4 separate regions of the Homo sapiens genome follow, and all the other regions are linked to region 2. The links are contacts of gene promoters, found by promoter capture Hi-C in blood cells and fetal thymus (Javierre and others, 2016). All regions are on one chromosome and are shown on one strand. The core of a region is centred on a gene start or on the middle of the fragment in contact, and the rest is flanking DNA. Distances in the headings are between cores, read along the strand shown.

Region 1 (6,286 bases), core at 2,122-4,621, 710 kb after region 2:
CTGATGATCACACTGGGTGTTTTGCCCAAAGCTTCGGGACCAGTTGGTTCACGTGGCAAGTCCTGCTGGGCTGGGGCACATTAACCAGGAGTGCATTGTTGCCAGGCTTGCAGCAAAGGCTGTCAGGCACACACCAAGAGAGCATGGAGGAGCATCGAATTGGAATCAGTCAGACCCGAGCTCAACCCTTGCCTTACCCTTGGCCATCCATATGCTTTGGGCAAGTTATTCAATCCTGACTCTGTTTACTCATGTGCACTCAATCAAGTTGAGTGAGAGAACAGTTACACCGGCTCAGTGGTAATACTTAATAAATGCTCTTATTTGGCTAATATTTATTGAGTGCTTTCTCTGCGCTATGCATGATACTGATCCCTTAACATGAGGAAACTGAGGCTTAGAACAGTTTAAGTTTTTCCAAGATCCCACATAGCAAGAGGAGGAGCTGGCATTTACCCACTACCTAAGGTATCACCCATAAGTTAATGCCCAAGGAGTAAAGAGGAAGGGCCTATCTGAAGGCCCAAATTCTCAAGTTCATCAATGCAAGGGATTGCTGATGTGCTAACATTCCTGGATCCATGGACTCCCCCTGCAGCCCCCTTGCATAGATGTTCAAACACTCTAACTCAGACCAGCTCTTCCAGTCACCAGCCCTGCGTCTTCTGTGTACCCTAGAATAAGTAAGACAAGCAGAGTCTGTGCGTAGGAAAGAAAAGTGGGCACAGAGGGCTCAGCCAGCGTTATAAGCCAGTATAATAAACAAATAAATTACTCCTCTCTGGCTGAACTAGCTGGTGAGTAAAAGCATTGTTGTGGTGCCCTCTGCTGGGCGTGTGTTGCTTGTAATGAATTTGTGGCAGAACCACACCTGGGTCTCAGAACTGTCTTTTTCCACCCTGGCTGGAGACTGTAGGCCACCAGTGTCCTAGGACCTGTTGGAGACAGCTCTGCTGGGCCTTTTGTGGTTGTCAGGGTGTAGCTTTTTTCTAGTGTGGAACACTGATTTGCCTGAAATAGACTATTTTTATAGCCTGGCATTCCCTACTCTCTGCTGTTGGGACCAGAGAGGGACTTTTCATTTGTTAGTCTTGGCTTTTGCAGAGAATGGGGGAGAATTTCCGTCCCATAAAAAAGGACCCCAGCCACCACATATACACACAAGTCTGAGCCACTGCAAAAATGAAATATTAAGTATTGTTTCCCCTTTTTAAACTTGTATTCAGTGATTTACAGTGAGAAGCTTGTAGATTTTTTTTAAAGGCCAGATACAGTAAATGGCTTCTGTGAGGCTGCAATAATACTGCATCTGGCAACTAGGCTGTCAGCTTCATAAGGGCCAGCACTGTGTCTTACAGCCTATAAATTCAGTCACAAACATGCAACCAAGGATCACAAACAAAAGGCCATCCCTGCCCTCATGGAGTTCATTGTGTGTGGAAGACACAGCAAGTCAGTGCACAACGATAACAGTGTGGACAGAGCTGTGTGATCACACAGGAGGAGCAACCTAGCCAATCCCAAGGTACACCAGGGCCAAGGGCGTGTCCCTCTTGATACATGGAGGTTTGCCATAGAATGATGTTTTCCTTCATTTTTAATAACTTCACTTGCCAGTTGACCACCATCCTCAATCTCTATCCTCTCTGAAAGCTGCTCATTTTCTGTCAGATATTTAGCAGAATCGCAGAATGGCTCTGAATACCTAGCCCTGTGAAAACCTCGGGTGTTGTCAAGCTGCATCATCCAAACTGCTCTGGACACTCGAGACAGGGTCAGTGCTTGCTGTGCCCTCAGAATGAAGGAGATGACACTCAGCCAAAAGCCACTTTACATGTGTGTTAGCTTGGCTCTCCTCCAAGTAAAACCTTGCTCTCCAGGATGTAAGTGTAGATGACAGTGGGATCCTTTTTATTTCTTTCTCTTACTCCATAATTTTGTGTAAGAAATTGGAAAAAAAAAATTAGGCACTTTGAAAAACTCATTTTGTAACCATTCACTCGATAGCAAACATTCATTGATTTCCAATTCTGTACTAGTTACTGTGCCAGGGGCTACAGATGTCACTGCTAAAAGAACATTACCCTCAGTTGCTCCACAGTCTAGTGGGGGCCCCAGGCCAGAAGAGAGATGTTTGCAAGAGTGCAGTAAAACATAAGTACAGAAGAAGCCCATGACCACCAGCCCAGTTGGGGAAGGGGGCAATTGGTAGATTTCCCACAGGCCATGGCCTGCTTGAACTGAACCTTATCGACGCACAGTGTCTTGAGGAACTGATAAGGCAAGGAGAGCTCATCACCTCTGGGTTGCGTTAACCTATGACCATTGCATCGAAAGGCAGGTCTGGAGGCCCATCATGCTCTCTCTTCTATATTTGAAGGGATAGGAGCAGGTTGTAACACTTGGTTCACAGCTTAGGGGGTTCCATATTTGTTCTGTAAGCCCACCTTTCTCCTAGATCACCCCAAGGTTTCGTGGGGAAAGTAGAGGTTTCCTACGACTCTGAATCTGAACTGGCCTGCATTACCACTCTCCAACAGAGTGAACCAGACGCCCTGTATGTGAGGGGTCCTGGGCCCTAGCCTGGCCTGTGATGATGGGGATGCTGGGTTTTGATCCTCATCTATCTCTGTGTCTTTCCTCAGACTGGTCCAGAGTCCTTAGGAGGCAAGGCCATTGAGTGCATCTTCCTCTTCCAACCTCTAATCTTAAAGCTCAGTGTTGTCACCCAAGTATCCTGTGCTCATTTTTGCTGTCTTTCTTTCTTTGTTATTCTCTCATACCTTTTTTTTTTAAGCTACCATTATCATACAGTTTACTGTGAGTGCAGGGCAAGATTAAGTTTCCACGACTCTCAAGGAATTAAGTCACTTGGCCAAGGTAGTGTAGCCGAGGTGGTCACGGAGCCCAGGCACGGCTGACTCCTGGGTCCAGCTCCAAAGCACCCCATGGCCCTGCCCACAGCTCTTCTCTGAAAGAGCTTGCCTTTGTCTCCTAGGCTAGGTACCTGTGGGAGAGAGAAAGGTGAGGAAATGAGCACACTTTGCACTGGGACAGAAGGGAGTAGGGGCTGCTGGTGCTGACATCAACCAGCAGGTGGAAGCCCACTGCAAAGGGGGTCTGAGTTTTGGATCAGTACTTTGTTTAATACTGTAATCATAGATGCTTTCAGTGGCTTTGTGAATATACCCTTTCCTTCTTAAGATTACCAATGTAAAAACAGCAAAATAAACAACCAGTAAAATATAATTCCTTCATTAAATGGCAAAGAAAAACTTTAGTCTCTTTCTATTTGATAAAATTCTCTATACAACATTTGAGCTTCACAATACAACATATATATATATAATGCATTATATATCTATAATGCAATTCAAGTTTGTTCCTGTCAGTCACTTGAATTTCCATTTCTGCCACTTATCCTTAGGTTAGAGTTTGTTTTCCTTCCTTTAATTTAGGAGCTACATGGGAATATGTTGTAATAGTCCTGTGCTGTGGATGGATCATACCTTGCTCTGGGATCTCTTCAGGTTTGGAGGTCTTTGAGGAGAACATGCTTTCCACTTTGCATGCCCGAGAGCAACTCATCACACACAGTTGGCCCTGAGAAATATTGGCCGCAAGAGTGGTGGATAAGAAAGAGCCGTATGAGAGCTGGCCCCGTAAAATTACACTACATCTCATTCTTTCTACTAGGCCTGGCTGACTTGCAAGGGAATAAACATTTACCTGGCCTTATATACTGATTTGCAGCTTTTAAGGCTCACGTGAAAAGAGCCATTACCATTAAACATGTTTTCTCCATGCTGGACAATGTCTGCCCCCAAAAGGTGAAGGCACACCTCCCAGGCACTGTACCTTATGAGCTCACCCCTTCCCCTCTTTCCTTTCCACAGAGGTCCCAGTCTGCCTTCTCAATCACTGGAGAAGAAGCCCTGAAGACCCCTCCAGTGGAGGCTCCATCGAGGCAGCCAAGGGACCAAGGCCAACACCCGAGAGCAGAGTCTGCTCTGCCCAGCTGGAAGAGTGTGGACAGGCTGGATGAAACAAGTAACTGTTTTAAGCAGTATCTAGTTGGTCTGTGGGTTTCAAAAGTGTGGTTTGGAGACATCTTGGCTATTGCATGGCCACTCTGCTCTTCTTCCCATAAGTCTGAACTGGTGTGTGTCCCTCTGGGCTACCAAGTCATGAGGCCTCCAGCACAACACACAATATATAATGTGGTCATGTTCTCCACCCAGGCAGTTTTCCTAGCTGCTCTGGCAGAATGAAGGCTCTTAGGGTGTCATCATATTCTATGCTCTGTGCTGAGACCTGTGGGACAGATTGGGGGCTCCTGGACAAGTGTGTTCACATCACTCCACTGCACACCCCACTTCAGCTGCCTGTTCTATGTGGACTAGGAGAATGTGTCTTATGTGGGCCAGGAGCATTAAACCAACCTCTCATGGCATTTCAACTTTCAAAGGGATTTGGGTCCCAGCAAATTTGGGTCCTTAGGGCTGGTTTTAAGGATGTCCTTTCTGAAACTGGATAAATTAGTTAGGGTAGCATATGCCACTATAACAAGTAAACTGAATATCTAAGCGGCTTAATACAATCATTTTCTTTTTCATCACACAACAGTGCAGTACAAGTACCCCTGGCCTGTGGGAAGCCTTCAGAGGCCAAAGTACAAGGTTCCCACCTTGTGGCTCTATCATCCTCCAGGGCCTCTGAGTCTTTTATGGGCTTATCCATATTCAGACAGCAGATGGAGGAAGGCAGCATGGAAAAGGCAGGTACCTGCTTCTTAACTATCTCAGCACGGAGAGCTCACGCCACTTTCACTCCCAACCTGTGGACAGGAACTGGTCACGTGGCCCCACCTCAATGCAGGCCCGGAGAAATGGCATCCTGGCTGGGCAGATGCATACCAGTAACACGGCTGGGCCATGAAAGAGTCTTTGGTGGGCAGTTGTCTATCCCTGCCTGAGGGACATCCTGAGGAAGGCATTGATGTTTGCTTGCACCTCTGCTCTTCCTGATTCCTCCCCCTAGAATGTCCTGCCTCTACATGGGGCAAGTCAGCTTGCCTCTTTAGAGACTCTTCAACATGTATGGAATGTGGTCCTTTATAAAGCTGTTGAGTCACGTAATCCCTCAAAATGAAGGGGCTCAAATGAACTGAGTCATTTTCCTAAAGTCTCACATCAGAAGACTGTAAGTTGCTTGGACCCATCACTGTGGGTGACGGCCGAGGGCCATGAAGCCCCTGTGCTCAGGGGGCCTCCTGGTCTACATGAATGTCAGACTAAAACTTCCCCCAACCCCTGCACAGGTCTACTCCTCTCTTCCTATTTCCTGCATACACACACTGTGTCAGGAGGCCAGGCATATTTGTCTTCACATGAAGAAAGCATTAACAGTATTCTCATCCCATGTCGTATCAGATTTAGACCCCTTTCCTGAATAATGAAAACAACAAAAAAGATTAACAGCAGCATAGCCATCCTAGTAATAAGCTTTTAAAGATTGTGCTATTATTTCTACTCTAAAAGGGAAAAGATTTAACCAACAACTATAGAAACAAAATCCATTGTTACGACAGTGCAAAGAATCAGAAAACATTAAATATTTTTAACTGTCATTCTAAAGATTTACCAAAAGAGATTATTTTTATATTAACCTTTTAGTACCTATTAGTAGAAACTGCAGTGCCATGACATTGCAGAAATTCTGCAGCATGTGATCGTTTCTTTACTTATGTATATGGTGTTTGCTTTTGCTTTTTAAGTGCATTTTTCTTTTCTAGATATGCCTTTCTTTCCTCCCTCTGCCCTCCCAGTCTATTCATATTCATTCATTCATATTCTCGCTCTCTCTCTTCTTCCTCATTTTCTCACTTCTCTCTCTTTCTCTATGGATTGCAAATGCACACAGAAAATGGACTGTTAGATTCCATAGAGTACATGAGAATACCACATAATAGAACTTCAATACACAATATCTAGCTTTCTAAAATCACTTTAAAACATACAGAGTCACTTAAAGTATAATAAAAAAAATACAGAGTCCATATGTAGGCACTATTTTATTTTTTCCTCCAACAGCATTACCAGACACTGTCATTATTTTGTTTTGCAGATAAGAACATTGATGGACAGGGAAGTTAAGTGACTTGTTCAAGACCCCACAGCCAATGTAGGCAGAGCTGGTCCTCAAATCCAAACAGCATGACTCCAATTTGCAGGTTTTCAACTACTGCATTATAAGTGTCTCTCTACCATAAAAACAAACAAACAAA
Region 2 (5,995 bases), core at 2,421-4,920:
TTATTAACAGATAGTTGACAGATCTGTTGGAATATTTGGAAAAAAGGATGTAGTGTAAAATTTAAAACTAAGCAGATTAAAATAAATGAATAAAATTAAAAATGGGGTGATTATTAACTCCAGGAACAAGAAATTTGTACAAAGAAAGGAAACAATTGTAGTTAATCACAAGGTTCTGAAGGAAATAATATTTACATATTTATAATAATATAAATACTAACTACATTCAGTAGGTAAGGGAAAAGGGAGAGGAAAAAGTAGAATGTAAGAAAACTATACCCTTAAGAGGAAACCAATAACCTACCATAAATAGGTATATAAATGGCTATTTGTGTGAATTATTTAGATATATGGAAATAAATAGAGAAAAGATAGCTAAGAAAAGGTTTAAAATGGTTGCCTCTGGTGGCTGGGATGTTGACTGGTGAGGCAGCATAAGGGACTATTGTTTTCCAACAGAAGCCTTTTAATATTATTATAACTTTGCACAAGTGTTATTTTGATAAATGTAGAAACCAATTGAAATAGTACTTATTGTCACTGTGGCGTATTAGTTTGTTAGGGCTGCTGAAGTAAAGTACCACCAACTGGGTGACGTACACAACAGAAATGAATTGTCTCACAGTTCTCAAAACTTGAAGTTTGAGGTCAAGGTATGGGCAGGGCTGGTTTCTTCCGAGGGCTGTGAATGAAGGATCTGTTCCAGGCCTCCTTCCTTGGCTTGTGGATGACCATCTTCTCCCTGTGGCTTCACATTGTCCTCCCTCCAAATGTGTCTTTCTGTCCAAATTTCTTCTTTGTGTAAGGACACTAGTCATGTTGCATCAGAGCCCACCCTAATGACTTCATAACTTGATCACCTCTGTGGTCTGTCTTCAAATCCTTATTTGAATCCAAATTCTTTTTTTTTTTTTTTTTTTGAGACAGAGTCTTGCTCTGTCACCCAGGCTGGAGTGCAGTGGTGCAATCTTGGCTCACTGCAACCTTTGCCTCTCAGGTTCAAGCGATTCTCGATTCTCAGCCTCCTGAGTAGCTGGGAATTAAAATCCTCTGTAATGTTAGGCACATGCCACCACACCTGGCTAATTTCTTTGTATTTTTAGTAGAGATGGGGTTTTGCCCTGTTGGCCAGGCTGGTCTCAAATTCCTGGCCAAAGTGCTGGCCTTACCGGAGTGAGCCACTGCACCCGGCCTCATTCCAAATTCTGAGATACTAAGGGTTAGGACTTCAACAAAGGAATTTGAGAGATGAGGGATGGGACACATTTTAACTCATAACATGTGGGGATTGTCAATTGTAGCCAAAGTTTCTGTGGGAAAATCCTCTGTAGTGTTAGCAAGTTTCTTAATTGTGACTGTGAGTCCTGGGAGGTCTTGCTCTGTGTGGAACACAGGCTGCCATTCAAGAAGAGTGACACTGACTCAGACGTGGCCTCCCCAGTGGTTCTGGGAGTGAGGGTGCCACCGCACTAAGGGCAAACACTAACATTTAAGTAGAAATAGAAAAAGATGGCATTACAAGCATTTTGTGGAACCTCCATACTTTGGTTGTGTAAATTGTATATCACTCTATATATGGTGGAGTAGAAGATCAAAGATGGGACTTCCCCAAAATGTGTCATTAAGAACTTTTGTTGGAAAGATTTGAGAAGCAGAGGGTCTTTTAATAAAGATAGAGCTTTATAATATATCTACTAGATCTTGTATTTTTTAAATAGCCTGAATTAGTCTCCAGTTATTTTGTGAATAGAAAACAAGTCCTTACAACTGCCACCCACCCCTGTTGGTAACCTTCTTTAGGGCCAGGGCCATAAGAGTGACATTGGTGCAGGACTCTGTGTGCCAGGCATTCTTTCCACCAGTGAACACATATTAACTGATTTAGTCCTCACTCAAATCCTTGAGGTGGGTCCTGTGATGATCCTAGTGTCAGTGCCTCCAGAGCTCAAGCTCTAAACCATCTTACCCTACTCCCCAGCCCTCAGTCACAGTCAGTACAACACAAGCAAAATACTGGCATCACAGTGGGAGTGAATCAACCAGCATACGTCTATAACTCATTACTCAGAGAATGTTTAATTAACTATAAAGTTAGTATACGAAGAGGCCAGGCACGGTGGCTCAAGCATGTAATCCCAGCACTTTGGGAAGCCAAGGCAGGCGGATCACCTGTGGTCAGGAGTTTGAGACCAGCCTGGGCAACATGGCGAAACCCTGTCTCTACTAAAAAATACAAAAATTATTCAGGCATGATGGTGGGTGCCTGTAGTCCCAGCTGCTCGGGAGGCCGAGGCAGAAGAATAGCTTGAACCCAGGAGGTGGAGGTTGCAGTGAGGTGAGAGCGCCACTGCACTCCAGCCTGGGGGACAGAACCAGATTCCGTCTCAAAACAAAAACAAAAACAAAAATGTTAGTGTACAAAGAGATTTATAGTCAATGTTTGTAGTCTCACTGGATTACCTTTTCAAGGTTCCCTGGCTGATTCTTTACTGAGACAAGAGCCTAAAGAGAAACTTGGTGGTAATGTTGACATTTATATTACACTGTCATGGAGGGGGCGCTGGGAATTCAAAAGGCAAGGCTGCTGTTGGTTGGATTGGTTTCAGAAGTAAGCTTTCATCTTTCAAATCATTAGTGGGTAGTTCTAGTTCTACATATATAAAATAAATAGCAGAAGCAGAGTTACAGGACCCATGGCATTTAACAGAGCACAGAAAGGTGTGGCCCCACATTTTAGGTTAGGAAAATTATAAGAAAATGCCGGTGTCTAAGACTGAAGCCAATAAAATGTTAATTGAATGAGATTTATCATTCGCAGAAACTGTTCAACATAAGAGATGATTTATACGTGTTTTCATAAATGTGAATGCATAGGGTAATTGTCATGGAAACTTCCAAATTCAATGTTAGTTGTAACTAGACTGGATTAGACTCTTGCTAATCAAGTGTACAAGGGCATGCTTGTGTGAATTTTAGTTTTGGGGTGTATCTATGGGTATACATGAGTGTTTTAGGGAAGGAAGTGTGATCGGTATTTAATCTACATGGAGTATAAAAACTCCTGGAATTTGTCAATGTGATTGCAGCTGTGTTCATGGCTTATGGGTATGGCTTGTGATGTGTGAGTGAGGTATGGGGTGCTGGGTGGGATGGCGCTGTGGTGGCATAGCATGTTGGTGGAAGGGTGTGTGGTTTGGTAGGGTGAGCTGGTGTGTGGTGTGGTTGGACCTGGCATGGAACTTAACTGGAGTTTATGTGGAATGAACCTTGAGGGGTGAGTTTTCACATGGGGTGTTGATTATGTGGGAGGTGGGAGGCTGGAATATGTGAATGTTGGGGGGCTGTAGAGTGAATGTGGGGTGCGTGTGTATGTGTGTGTGAGATATGGTTATAGCTTAGCTTAGCTTTTGTTTAGATTTTCTTTTGCTCTTTGTTTTTGTCTTTGGCCTTTGTTTTATCTTTGTTTCGCTCTTTGTTTAAACTTTCTTTGGCTTTTGTTTGGTCTTTCTTTAGCCTTTTGTTTAAACTTTGTGTGGCCTTTTTGTAGTCTTTGTGTAGCTTTTGTTTTTAAGTGGATCTTCGCTGAGGACTCATCAAAAACACCTTGTGTAATGAAAAACCCAGATCTATAACCTCTCCCTATATATTCTGCATGCATTGAAGTAGGCTCAAACCCTCAGGGACCTGGTATAGACGCAGAATCTGTTTCACACAACAACTGCTATTTGAAGGTAAGAGGATTCCATTGGTTTTTATTTTACTTCATTTTATACTTTCATCTTTAAATGACAAGTGTACTTTTTTGTATGGGCCATTTCATTATATCCCAGGGAAAACTTTCTGTAAGAATAGTCAAGATTGAGAGGACATACAAGGATGGAGAAAACAAGAACAGAGGACACCATGTTTATTCTGATGTGGGCAGGGGGCCTCCTGGAATGTTCCTGCTAATGTTTGGAAATCGTCTGAGCCCAGAGAGAGGCTCTGAGCCCTTACTCAGATTTCCTCAGATTCAAAGCCCCATGTTCCTGGAGCTAGATGGATGGTAGTACATGCTGCTGCTGCTGCTGCTTTTTTTTTTTTAATTTATTTCTTCTTTTATTATTTGTCATGATTTAAAAATGAGTTTTTCTTCTTATCTAGGAACAATTTTTTTCCTCATACAGTTGGATTTATGTGTGGGGGATCTTAATGGAACAACAAAGCCCAAATCTTTTCGGAATTCTGCCCCCTGTAGACCAACAACCTTAAATGGAAAGGCGCTAATGCTTTGTCTGATACAGAATATCTTAGAAACAACAGGGAGTTTTCAGTTCTATGGATGACAGAGAAAGGAAAAAATATTATGTGTCAGGGAGGCGAGTAATGAACTTGGCCTACAGTACTAGCAGGAAAACGGGGAAAGGACTTTTTAATTCTTTGTGAATAAATCAGGGAGGCAGAGAGCAGGCTGCTGCCAGGTGTGCGGATATGCTGTTTCGTATTTAGAATGACAGGAAACTTGTTGGTGAGTGAGTTTTAAAAATTGTTTCAGATTTTCAGAAAAGTTGCAAACAATACAGAAAATTTCAGGTGCAGCCAAATTACCCAGATGTTCCTGTTTTACCATATTTCCTTTATCATTCTCTTTCTCTCTCTCTGTATCCATACATATGGGTGTATATATAAAAATATGTGTGTGTATATACATATATACATATGTGTGTGTATATACATATATACATATGTGTGTGTATATATACATATATACATGTGTGTGTATATATACATATATACATGTGTGTGTATATATACATATGTGTGTGTATACATATTACATATGTGTGTATATATACATATATACATGAGTGTGTATATATACATATATACATATGTGTGTGTATATATACATATATACATATGAGTGTGTATATATACATATATACATTGTGTGTATATATACATATATACATATGTGTGTGTATATATACATATATACATATGTGTGTGTATATATACATATATACATATGTGTGTATATATATACATATATACATATGTGTGTGTATATACATATATACATATGTGTGTGTGTATATACATATATACATATGTGTGTGTATATATACATATATACATATGTGTGTGTATATACATATATACATATGTGTGTGTGTATACATATATACATGTGTGTGTGTGTATATACATATATACATGTGTGTGTATATACATATATACATATGTGTGTGTATATATACATATATGTGTGTGTATATGTATAGATATATATACATATGTGTGTATATGTATATATACACATATTTATATCTAATTAATTTTAATTAAAATTTATTTTAATTGGAATTAACTAAAATTTATTTTAATTGGAATTAATTAAAATTTATTTTAATTGGAATTAATTAAAATTTATTTTAATTGGAATTAATTAAAATTAGAAAATTACTATTGAGAAAATACTGTTTTTAAATCTAGAGATATCTAGATTTCATCAATTGTCCAAGGAGCGAATTGAGAACCATGCATGACCTTTTGTTGTCCTGTCCCCTCAGCCTCCTTTAGTCTGGAACCACACCTGAGGCAGCTTTGACCTAGACAGTTTTGGAGAGTATAAGCCAGTTATTTTGCTAAATGTCCCTCAATATGGGTTTGGTCTGCAGTTTTCTCACAATTATGCAGTTTTCAAAGGAATAGGCTTGCATTTTAGATCATACATATCCAAATTCATACTTGAATCTGAGTATACAATTTTTAAATTCAAGATCTTGTTTACCTAATAGTTACTAGGATTTTAAATGAGTACCTAAAATCTTTGTACACCAAATTGCCAAAAATTAAAAATCTAGAGCTTTTACAGATAATTTCCAAGGAATCACCAAAAGTGTGTAAGTATTGCCCTTGGATTATAAATAGCAATTACAGTGACCTGTATGTGATCTTATAGGCTTAAAGTGAGGTATTCAATTTAGATTCTTTGTGTGTGTTGGAGTCATGT
Region 3 (6,206 bases), core at 2,437-4,936, 540 kb after region 2:
TTCATGTCCATACTTAATATTTAGCTCCCACTTACTAGTGACAACATGCCATATTTGGTTTTCTGATTCTGCCTTAATTTGCTTAGAATAATGGCCTCCAGCTGCATCCAGGTTGCTGCAAAGGAAGTGATTTAATTCCTTTTTTATGGCTGAATAGTATTCTGTGGTGTTTATGTACCACATTTACTTACTTTATCCAATCCACCACTGATGGGCACCTAGATTGATTGCTATTCTTTGCTATTGCCTAATTTCCACACTTTGTGTGTCTTGTGTTCACCTGCTCCTGCATATCATAGGCTCCTGTCTTACTAACTCACTCCTGTAACTCATAGTACCTGGCAGAGTGCTGTGAGAAAGTCAGTTCTAAGTCAGTATTTGTTAAATGTATGAAATAACCCATGTATATGTCTCAGGCATAGATATGCCATCAGGCATTATTTCTACAATTAATTAGGTCCATTCTCTGGCTTTATTGGCCATTATACTTGTGTCACTTGTTCCAAGGTAAAAGTGTGTGCACAAAATTAATAAGCCAAAACAATCATAGTTTTCAAAATAATACAGATGAAAGTATTGAAACATGGAAAATAGATTTCATAGGCAGATGATTTGGAACAATGCAGTTTGATTTCATTGGCACCAAATGGAAATATTTAATAATAGAAGTATTAGCTGTGTTGCTTCTCATGGATAACAGTCTTCCTTTTAGCATGCCAGTTGTATTGGAACCATGTCATGCCCGTCTTTTGAGTATCTTGTCTATAATGTATTTTGCAACACCATATATATAATATCATGTAATACTTTGCAAATCTCCTTTGTAACTGGGTCTATAATGTGGAAAATACATTAAATAAAATATGCAAGATATATAATGCATGCACACATATATATAATTAGAAATTGCAAAAAGTCTATTAAGGAGAAAATTCAGGTGCTTTGAGAGTCACAGGGGGATTTAATTTGACCTGATAGACAAGGGAAGGCCTTTCATGGAGAAATGGAGGTGGCCGAATGGAATTTAGCTGAGTTAATATTGGTACAAGGAGCTTCCATGAGGAGGGATCATGAGGGAAGGTCTCAAAGAAGAGAAGAATTTGGCATTTTCAAAGAAAAGAAAGAAGGTGCATATGGTTAAAGAATCAGATGAACTTGGAGGCATCCAGGCCATGTGAGTTCCTATTACACCCAGAGAAAAACTAGGGTCTGTGAAAGCATGCTAAGCAGGTGGGTGACCCCATCAAATTTCATTCAGGAAAGGTCCTTCTTGCCGTAGTTTAGAGAAGGAAAATAGAAGGAGAGAGGGAAGTTTAGTACCCAGCTTAGAAGGAGGCTGTTGTGGCAGAGCTTGCAGTAAGCCGAGACTGCGCCACTGTACTCCAGCCTGGGTGACAGAGCAAGACTCTGTCTCAAAAAAAAAGGAGGCTGCTGTGGTGGTCCCCAGGGCAGTGAGGTAGTGTTGAATTAGAGGAGTGACAGCAATGATGGATTCCAGATATGTTATATTTAGGGGCTAGAATATGTAGACCTGGATGGACTATGGCAGGTCAGGGGCATAATCAAGAAAACGTCCTGTTTCTGGCTTGAGCAGATGAGTGGTGGAGGGACCATTAACCGAGCCTCAGATGCCTATATTCTCACTTCAGGAATCTGTGATTGAGCACCTTCTCTTCCTGGGAGTTTTCATGTTAAATGTTGATTATGCTGCCCTGTAATTATAAAGACTAATACTTACTCCAGAAAATTCTGTATTTGCAGTATTCGTCTTCTAGCATTTGCACTTACTTTGACCACTGTTAAGACACAAAGTTGTTGAGCTGAATGGAAAACTGCTGTGGATGTGTTCCCTTAAGCAGCTAAATTAAATGGGACATGTTGTTGTGAGGGCTTATTTTTTTTAAGAGGCTGGGTCTTGCTCTGTTGCCCTGGCTGGGGTGCAGTGGCACAATCATGGGACCATAGTCTTGAGCTGCTGGGCTCGGGCAATCCTCCCACCTCAGCCTCCAGAGCAGTTATGACTACAGGTGTTCACTACCATGCCCAGCTAAGTGATCATTGCATGTGTGTGATGGCCTCAGCAAATGCTGGGGGGAAATGTCTTTACTTGGAGAAATAACTGATATTGGTTTAGTCTTTGGAGAAGTAACTTATATTGGTTTAGTCATCAGTGTCACTTGAAGACAGAGGCAGCCTCATTTTTGTCAGAATTCTGTACAGGCTAATGCATCCAGCCATGGAGAAAGCCGTTTCAAAATTCTGATCAGTTGTCAGAGGACCATTCATGTCCTAGGACTTGGCCATCATCATTCTCCTGTGAGCTACAGAGCAGGCTGTCCTCTGACTTTGCATTAGTTTAAATATATGTTAAAAAAAAAAAACCACACATGGAGAATCCTTTCTAAAACAGGCGATCCAATGAGGAAGTTATGGGAGGAAAGGGAATAGAAACGCCAACATACGTGAATGCTTCTGGCCTTAGCTCAGGTGTCCTCTCCTCATCAGTGTGCACAGTCTTGATTCAAACTCCCTCCATTCCTCACAGACATTGTGATGAGACAAGATTGACTTAACCTCCATGAACCTCAGTTTCTTCTTTTGCATATGCTGGCATTGTGTGCCGAGTATCTAATGTGGCTCCTGGCCCAGAGCAGACTACAGTGGGTTCTCCAGAGAAACAAAACCACTAGGATGTGTGTATGTGTGTGCAAGATTGACTGATTTTAAGGAGTTGGCTTAGATGATTATGAAAACTGGCATATCAAAATCTGCCGAATGGTCACAAGGCTTGAGAGCTAGGGAAGAGTTGCACTTCAGTCCAAAGGTGTTCTGCTGGCAGAATTCCCTCTTCTTCAGGGAGGTCAGTCTTTTTCTTAAGTCCTTTGATTGGATGAGGCTCATCCACATTATGCAGGGTGATCTGCCTTAATCAAAGTCTATAGGTTTAAATGTTAATCTTGTCTGAAAAACACCTTGACAAGAACACCCAGACCTTTCTACCCACATATCTGGGTACTGTGGCCTAGCCAAATTAACATACAAAATTAACCATCACACAGATTATCTAAAAATGCCTTTGCAGACACAACTGGCTGTCTTTTGCTGAGTTCAGTGGCCCTCCCAGTTCCTCTGGGGAAGACCCTGGGGTAGAGACTTCATGCTTCATAGCACTTGACTCCCATGGTTTTGTCTTTTCTTGGCTCTGAACTTCTCTGCACTTAGAATATTATATGGTACAAGGTAGCATTTCCATATATGTTTATTTAATAAAGGACCACATAAATTATGTAGGATCCATTTAAACAAGCAAAGGACAGAAATTTCAATAAGCTATGTATTTATTTATTCAGTATGAATTTAAAGCAATGGATAAATTTAGATATAAGCTTCAGGAAAGACGTTTAACATATTTTAAAATGAAGCCTGTTAAACTAATGCTATCCATTTTTTTCCAAAATGGTATTTTCTGTATTAAACTTTAGGGTATTTCTCTGGCTTAGCCAGGCTGTAAGTCCCTGCTTTGTCTCAGTTTCCTCTCCAGGGAAACAGGAGAGTGTGGTAGAAGGAAGAGAGTATATTGCAGTCACTCTGTGATTCCAGAATCAAGAGCCAGCTCAGACACAGGGGTACATGAACTGGAAGACACAGCCGAGGGAGAACAGCACTTCAGCAATATTGGTAATTATAGCAAGACCCTGCAGGACTCCTTACATCACAGTCTCCACATGGCCACTCGACCTCAGGAAGCCTGATGGTTCCTGAACCAGAAAATATGCTTATTCCAATCAGCCCCCAAGAGTGATATTGCTGAAAGAACACGAAGTCAAAAGAATTTCAGGTTCTCTGCAGATTTGCCTCTTGTCTTCTCATTTCCTTGTGCCCAGACAGGACCTAGGTAGCCTTAGGGATGCAGACACTGCGTGATGTTTCCAGCAGGTGCACCACTGAGTCCGTCTGCTCCCTGTGTGCTTCCTATTTCCTTGTTCAAAGCTTCTCCTGCCTGCCCTTGCTCCAGGCCTGAGGTTGAGGTGACAGGACTTACTGTCACAGAAGCCAAGACAAATGGATGGGCAGGGGAGGAAGAGAAATAGCAACACAGAGTGTTCCCTGCTGGAGTGAGACTTCCAGCAAGGTTGGGGTTGTGACAGCAGCAGGGAGAACAGAACTGTATGGGCCAAATGTGGAGACTGCCAGACCCTGCCATTGCTGGCGCCCTCTCCTAGGCACGGTCACCACAGTGGAGGGATGACAAACTGCTACTTCTTTTTTTTTTTTTTTTTGAGACGGAGTCTCACTCTGTCACCCAGGCTGGAGTGCAGTGGTGTGATCTCGGCTCCCTGCAAGCTCCGCCTCCCGGGTTCAAGCGATTCTCCTACCTCAGCCTCCCGAGTAGCTGGGACTCCAGGCACCTGCCACCACACCTGGCTAATTTTTTGTATTTTTAGTGGAGACGGGGTTTCACTGTGTTAGCCAGGATGGTCTTGATCTCCTGACCTCATGATCCGCCCGCCTCGGCCTCGGCCTCCCAAAGTGCTGGGATTACAGGTATGAGCCACCACGCCTGGCCCCAACTGCTACTTTTTAATGTGGAGGCTCAGGACTTCCTGAGCAGCCCTGCTGAAAAGCAATCTGAGATGGGCTTCAAGGGCATACATGTCTTCTGGATAAACAGGGCTGCCTCCTGGAATCAGAAACCCCTCACCTTACTGGGGATGCTATGTGTTAGATAGAGGCTTCATTTCCCAGTGGTTCCATTAAATGGTCACTCTGATGCTATTACTAATGCAATGATAAAACAGTGATTTTATCCCGTGACTGTGATGTATAGGTTCTGTGAATGCATACTTTATTTCCACTGCCTCCAGCAATTCTACAAAGTAGGCGTTATTGGCCTCATATTGCAGACATGGCAACTGAGGTCAGCGAGTTGAAATAACTTGCCAGGTCTTTCTGTTGCCAAAGTCTGTGCTCTCCATGCAACATTTTCTCAGTAAAGATGATTTTCCTTTCTCCTTTAAGGAATGATGAGCCTAGGGAGAAAATGCTGTCCTGGGAACTCAGAAGAAAGGACAGTGAATGAGAGGGTCCTAGGCAGATGGCCAGCCATTCAAGGGCAAGCCAAGGTGGGAGCTGTATATGCAGGCAGAATATCCAGGGTGCCTGAGGGAATGGAGCCAGAAAGAATGCAGCGAGAGGGAATGCAACAGCACTGCTTGTTCTGAAGCACAAAGCCAGCAGATTTCTGGGAATTTGCTAGACAGCAAGGCCAAGGAGAAAGCATTGCCAAGACTTGAGGAGTTAGGGTCACCAGGAACTCACGGAAAGCTGGCCTCTGAGAGTGGCAGCTGAGGGGACAGCAGAGCTTCCTGTGCCTCCCAGTGCCTGGAAGGGAGGAGAAAGAGCAGAGGAGCCCTGGCCACCCCAGATATTCTAGTAGGAGACAGCCATAGAGGTGCCGGGTAGCAGTAACCATTTCTAAACCCTACAGGCCTGTGAAATGAGAGTTCTTTATAGACCTACTTGCTTCCACTTGATTCCAAGAGCAGAACAGGACAGCCCATCATGAACCAGTGAGGCTTGGTGGCTTCAGAAGTCCATGTAAAGATAGATGCTTTAAAACAGGGTTGGTTTTAGTCACACCTCATGGCCCACCTCATTCCAGGTGCATTTAGAATGTTTCTACATGCTCTACTATGCTTTGCATTGGTTCTTCAGCCAGTATGGTTGCTCTAAGCTGCCATACCTCCCCTGCCCCTACTACACATTTAAGGGACCTAAGGATGTCAGAAATCTCTTAGGATGCCTGGTCCTGGTTCTGGTTCTGGACTTCTTGTGCCATCCTGCTTTCCTTTCACTGTCATCTTGCTCTGAATCTTGCCTCTCTCTGCCTCCTGATGCCAACTTTATCTCATTCTTGCTGTACTTGACCTTGACCCTGCTCTTCTGTCTCAGAGTTAGTTTTATCTGCATATATGTGAATAACCCATTTCTCTTTTACATAAAAAAAATCAGCAGTGGGTTTAGGACTAGTGGGGTGGCTCCCCCATGTCATTGAGAACCCAAGTTCCTGCATTTCTGATCTACACAGCCTCTCAAAGACAAATCATAGATCAAGATGGCAACTAGAGCTCGAACCAGCATGGACAGAGGGCAAGATGGGGGAGAAAAGGCAGAATGACAAAATGGTGACCCTCCTTGCTGAATGA
Region 4 (5,751 bases), core at 1,690-4,189, 520 kb after region 2:
TGGTTACACTTGGTCCCTGCTACTTTGATCTCTTTTTCTCATTTCTTCTTTTCCCAGTTTATTGATTTTGTTGTATTTTTACATTTATATATGAGAACATTATCAAACATTTCTCTCTGTCTCTCTCTTTCTCTCTCTCTTCCTCCCCACTCCCTCTCTGTCTCTTTCTCTCCCTCTCTCTCTCCCTCTCTCTCTCTCTCTGTCTCTTTCTCTCAACTTCCCTAAGAGCATAAGGTGTGAAAGGCAAACAGACCTGGGTTTAAAGTCTTGCTCTGACACCTACTAGCAGTATCCTTGGAAGGATATTCCACAGTGGATGCTGCAGCGGTACCATGCCCATTTCCCTTTGCCAGTCCAGTGCACCCATATCCCATGGCTCTGAGTGTTGATCCCTGATGGCTCGGAGCTGCTCTTATCTCTGGAGAACTTTCCTTGATAGAGAATATAACCCCCGTGGGTAGGGGGTGGAGTGGATTCCTGCAGACATGACTTGCTAATGCAGGAGAACAAAGGCATATCTTCTTTTCTCAAGGTGGGACCAACTCTGCAGGACAAAGCATGTTCCAGAGCTCCCAGGGGGTCAGACCAAAGCAGACTGCAGCTGAGGCCATATCTCTGCTTGTCCCCTTCTTCTCTTGTATCCTGCTTCCTTTGCTCCCCTTCTTTTGAGGCTACTCTTACAATAAATCATGTTAACAAGATTCCCTGTTTCATATTCTGCTCTTTATTATTATTATTTTTTAAGTTCCGGGGTACAGGTGCAGAACATGTAGCTTTGTTACATAGGTATATGTGTGCCATGGTGGTTTGCTGCACCTATCAACCCATCATCTAGGTTTTAAGCCCTGCATGCATTCGTTATTTGTCCTAATGCTCTCCCTCCCTTTGCCCTCTACCCCACGACTGGCCCCAGTATGTGTCATTTCTCCCCCTGTGTCCATGTGTTCTCATTATTCAGTTCCCACTTGTGAGCGAGATCATGTGGTGTTTGGTTTTCTCTTCCTGTGTTAGTTTGCTGAGGATGATGGCTTTCAGCTTCATCCATGTCCCTGCAAACGACGTGATGTCATTCCTTTTTATGGCTTCATAGTATTCCATGGTGTATATGTACCACACTTTCTTTATCCAGTTTATCATTGATGGGCATTTGGGTTGGCTCTATGTCTTTGCTATAGTAAATAGTGCTGCAATAAACATGTTTGCCTGTGTCTTTATAATAGAATGATTTGTATTCCTTTGGTTATATACCCAGTAATGAGATTGCTGGGTCAAATGGTATGTCTGGTTCTAGATCCTTGAGGAATTGCCACACTATCTTTGGCAATGGTTGAACTAATTTACATTCCCACCAACGGTGTAAAAGCATTCCTATTTATCCACAGCCTTGCCAGCATCTATTGTTTCTTGACTTGTTAATAATTGCCATTCTGACTGGCATGGTTTTGATTTGCATTTCTTTGATGATCAGTGATGTTGGACTTTATTTCTCCTTTGCTTATGAAGCTTAGTTTTTCTGGATATGAAATTATGGGTTGAAAATTTTTTTCTTTAAGAATGTTCAATCATGCTGCTATAAAGACACATGCACACGTATGTTTATTGTGGCACTATTCACAATAGCAAAGACTTGGAACCAAGCCAAATGTCCAACAATGATAGACTGGATTAAGAAAATGTGGCACATATACACCATGGAATACTATGTGGCCATAAAAGATGATGAGTTCATGTCCTTTTTAGGGACATGGATGAAATTGGAAATCATCATTCTCAGTAAACTATTGCAAGAACAAAAAACCAAACACCGCATATTCTGACTCATAGGTGGGAATTGAACAATGAGAACACATGGACACAGGAAGGGGAACATCACACTCTGGGGACTGTTGTGGGGTGGGGGAAGGGGGAAAGGATAGCATTAGGAGATATACCTAATGCTAAATGACGAGTTAATGGGTGCAGCACACCAGCATGGCACATGTATACATATGTAACTAACCTGCACATTGTGCACATGTACCCTAAAACTTAAAGTATAATGATAAAAAAAAAAAGATTGTTGAATATTGGCCCCCACTCTCTTCTGGCTTGTGGTGTTTCTGTTGAGAGGTCTGCTGATAGTTTGATGGGCTTCCCTTTGTAGGTGACCTGGTCTTTCTCTCTGGCTACGCTTACCACTTTTTCCTTCATTTTGACCTTGGAGAATCTGATGATTATTTGGGGTTGGTCTTCTCATGGAATATCTTAGTGGTGTTCTCTGTATTTCCTGAATTTGAATGTTGCCCTGTCTTGCTAGGTTGGGGAAGTTCTCCTGGATAATATTCTCAAGTGTGTTTTCCAGCTCGGTTCCATTCTCTCTGTCTCTTTCAGGTACTCCAATCAATTGTAGGTTTGGTCTTTTTGCATAGTCCCATATTTCTCGGAGGTTTTGCTCATTCCTTTTCATTTCTTTTTTCTCTAATCTTGTCTGCATGCCTTATTTCAGCAAGATGGTCTTCAAATGCTGATATCCTTTCTTCTGCTTGGTTGATTTGGCTATTGATACTTGTGTATGCGTCATGAAGTTCTTGTGCTGTGTTTTTCAGCTCTATCAGGTCATTTATGTTCCTGTCTAAACTGGTTATTCTATTTAGCAGCTCCTGTAGCCCTCTATCAAGGGTTTTGGCTTCTTTGCATTGGGTTAGAACATGCTCGGTTAGCTCAGCGGAGTTTGTTATTACCCCCCTTCTGAAGCCTATTTCTGTCAATTTGTCCATCTCATCTTCCATCCAGTTCTGCATCCTTGCTGGAGAGGCATTGTGATCATTTGGAGGAGAAGAGGCACTCTGGCCTTTTAGATTTTCAGCGTTTTTTTCGTTGATTCTTTCTCATCTTCATGAGTTTGTCTAATATTGATCTTTGTGGCTGCTGACCTTTGGGTGGGGATTTTGTGGGGACTTTTTATTGTTGATGCTATTGTTGTTGTTGCATTGTTGTTGCTTTCTGTTTGTTTTTCTTGCAGTTATCAGGTCCCTCTTCTGTAGGGCTGCTGTGGTTTGCTGGGGGTTCGCTTCAGGCCCTATTCATCTGGTTCATTCCCATGCCTGGAGATGTCACACAAGGAGCCTGGAAAACAGCAAAGATGGGTGCCTGCTCCTTCCTCTGGGATCTCTGACCTAACTGATGCCAGTAGGAACGCTCTTGTATAGCATGTCTGACAACCCCTGTTGGAAGATCTCACCTAGTTAGGTGGCAAGGGGAGCAGAACGCATTTAACAAAGCACTTTGTCCCTTGGTGGATTGGGCGTGCTTCACTGGGGGGAAACCCACACATCTGGGCTGCCTGAATTCTTCAGAACTAGCAGGAGGAAAGAATAAGTCTACTGGTCTGCAGAGACTGCAGCCACCCCTCCCGCTAGGGCTCAGGCCCAGGGAGATCAGAGTTCTGTCCTTGAGTCCCTGGCTGAAGTTGTTGGAGTTCCTGTAGGGAGGCCCTGCCTTGATGGGTCAAGGTCAGGCCTGAAGAGGCACTCTGTCCGCAATCTGCCACAGCCATTGTGTTGGACTGTGGGGGATACCTCTTGGGACCAAGCTGTCCAGCCTCCCCAGCTCCAGCAGGGGAAAAGCCTGGCCTGGAGCTATAGAGATGGCTGCTGCCCTTCACCTGCCCTTAGAGCTTAGTTTGTTAGGCAGCTATCAGTCCCAGTGTTGGCTGTCACCCGTCCCCCAAGGAGTCCAAACGGCTTAGACAGCAGGCAACTGCAGCTGTGGTGCTGATCACCCTCCCCCAGGAGCTCAGCAGCCTTAAGCAGATTCTAGCTTAGTGCCTGTTGAGAATCTGTATGGCTTCATTGTTGGGACCCTAGACCCCAGTGGAATGGACTCATGAGTTGGATCTTCCAAACCATGGGTTGCACAGTTCCATGGAAAAAGGACATTTTCCAGGCTGGGTAGTATGCTCATTCACTGACTCCCTTGGCTGGGGGGAGTGGACTCCTCTGCCCTGTGTAGCCACCACACCACACTACTCTTCCTTCTTCTCTGTGGATCACAGCAGCCACCTAGTCATTTCCGATGTTGGAATCTGGATACCTCAGTTGCTGGTGCAGGATTCGCATGCTGTTATGGTTCTTTTCAAGGGGAGCCTCTGATTGCCACTGCTTCTAGTCAGCCATCTTGACCCCACCCCTGTTCTGCTCTTTGAGTCTGTGTTTTCTTATCTGAACAATAAAGATAGCTCACTGCTCATAGAATTATTTTGAGGCTTGAGTGAAATAATGTCTATTAGGTATCTGGAAAAGTTTAAAAATCAGACATTCAAGGGCTGATACTAATTGTTGTTACATTAGGCCACAGCCCATGACTAAAGAAGTGTTGAAAAACTGAAATCCTATTGAAAGCTTTTCACAGTGTCTTGTTATTCATTCTGATTGTTCTGGTCATCGTGGCCCAAGAGAGGATACATTCCCTTTGCCAAGTAAACATTTTTCAGTTTCTAAGTGCAGGGCTGCCCTCTAGTGGACTCTGAATGCATGTTCATTGAGGATAATAGGTAGTTTTTGCAGGCACATGGCAAACTGTATGAAAACATGTCCTTTGCAGGAACATGGATGAAGCTGGAAACCATCATTCTCAGCAAACTGTCACAAGATCAGAAAACCAAACACTGCATGTTCTCACTCATAAGTGGGAGTTGAACGAAGAACACATGGACACAGGAAGGGGAACATCACACACTGGGGCCTGTCGGGGAGTGTGGGGCTACGGGAGGGATAACATTAGGAGAAATACCTAATGTAAGTGACAGGTTGATGGGTGCAACAAACCACCAGGGCACATGTATACCTATGTAACAAAACTGCACATTCTGTATGTGTAACCCAGAACTTAAAGTATAATAAAATAAATAAATAAAATACTTGTTTAGTCAAAAAAGGAAAATTGGTCTAAGTGTCTGCCTCGATAAGCTTCTAGTGTCCTCCAGAGACAAAACACTGCAACCTGTTGTCATCAGAGCATCTGTTCCTATTCCCTTGAGGCTTGAGGCTTAAAACCAGATGGAAATGTAGAGAGATCTCTACTCCAACTTCTCATTTCCAGAGAAAAATTCAGAATTCATAGAGGTAAAATGAGAACTGAATTCTAATCCTGCCTTGGCTGTGACTTCCAACTCAGAAGTGTTTTTGTGTGATGTGCTGATGTCCATTTGGACATAGATTCTTTCTCTAGGAATAGTTGCCATTTACTTAATTACAATCATTTCTAATTATTTTACTACCTTCCTACGACTTTTCCCTTTGCTCATTTTGCTGTAGCCACCCTGTCCTCTTATTGTTTATCTTAACGCAACAGGCAAGCTTCTCTCTCCATAACCTTTGCACAGGTGTTCCCTCTTCCTGCTATACTCTTTCCTGTACCACCTTCAAGTATTTGCTCAAATGTCACCTTCTCACTCTGACCACCCTATTCAATATTTCAGTTCCCCAACATAGCAGCACTCCAGGTGTCCCCTTATCCTGCTCTATAGCTTCTTTTTTCTGTAGCCCTTATCACTTTCTACTGTGCTGTATAACTTTATTCATTATGTAGTGTAATGAATTCAAGTGCCCCTGGAGCAAGGATCTTTGTCTCATTTCTTCACTGATATAGCCTGTGTTCCTAGAATAGTGCATAGTGCACACTAAGGGCTCTATAAGTATATATTAGATTAAATAACCTTCCAAAATAAGCTTGTCACTCAGTGGAAAAACCACTTCCTCCAGTGTAGAAGTG

The links. The method cuts DNA at HindIII sites, captures the fragments that hold promoters and counts their contacts. A CHiCAGO score of 5 or more calls a contact.
Region 1: a fragment that was not itself captured here is called in contact with the fragment with the promoter of MOBP in region 2 in 2 of 17 cell types (endothelial precursors and megakaryocytes); the score reaches 6.2 in endothelial precursors.
Region 3: a contact is called between a fragment that was not itself captured here and the fragment with the promoter of MOBP in region 2, in 1 of 17 cell types (M1 macrophages). The highest score is 5.9, in M1 macrophages.
Region 4: a fragment that was not itself captured here is called in contact with the fragment with the promoter of MOBP in region 2 in 1 of 17 cell types (M1 macrophages); the score reaches 5.0 in M1 macrophages.

Annotation. Positions count from the first base shown.
Region 1 is chr3:40,178,324-40,184,609 of GRCh38, forward strand. MYRIP (myosin VIIA and Rab interacting protein) reads left to right here. Exons shown (of 17, transcript NM_015460.4): 9 at 3,897-4,050. All of the region lies in intron 2 of EIF1B-AS1 (EIF1B antisense RNA 1), which reads right to left. Among named protein-coding and RNA genes, the nearest start is that of EIF1B-AS1, 130 kb to the right of the region's middle. The HindIII fragment of the contact is 4,261 bases long and covers 1,242-5,502 here.
Region 2 is chr3:39,464,010-39,470,004 of GRCh38, forward strand. It overlaps MOBP (myelin associated oligodendrocyte basic protein), which reads left to right and starts at 3,671. Exons shown (of 4, transcript NM_001393704.1): 1 at 3,671-3,731. RefSeq lists an enhancer at 3,289-3,971. The HindIII fragment of the contact is 9,372 bases long and covers 2,612-5,995 here.
Region 3 is chr3:40,004,975-40,011,180 of GRCh38, forward strand. The region is part of intron 2 of MYRIP (myosin VIIA and Rab interacting protein); the gene reads left to right. Among named protein-coding and RNA genes, the nearest start is that of MYRIP, 200 kb to the left of the region's middle. The HindIII fragment of the contact is 604 bases long and covers 3,385-3,988 here.
Region 4 is chr3:39,986,271-39,992,021 of GRCh38, forward strand. All of the region lies in intron 2 of MYRIP (myosin VIIA and Rab interacting protein), which reads left to right. Among named protein-coding and RNA genes, the nearest start is that of MYRIP, 180 kb to the left of the region's middle. The HindIII fragment of the contact is 2,876 bases long and covers 1,502-4,377 here.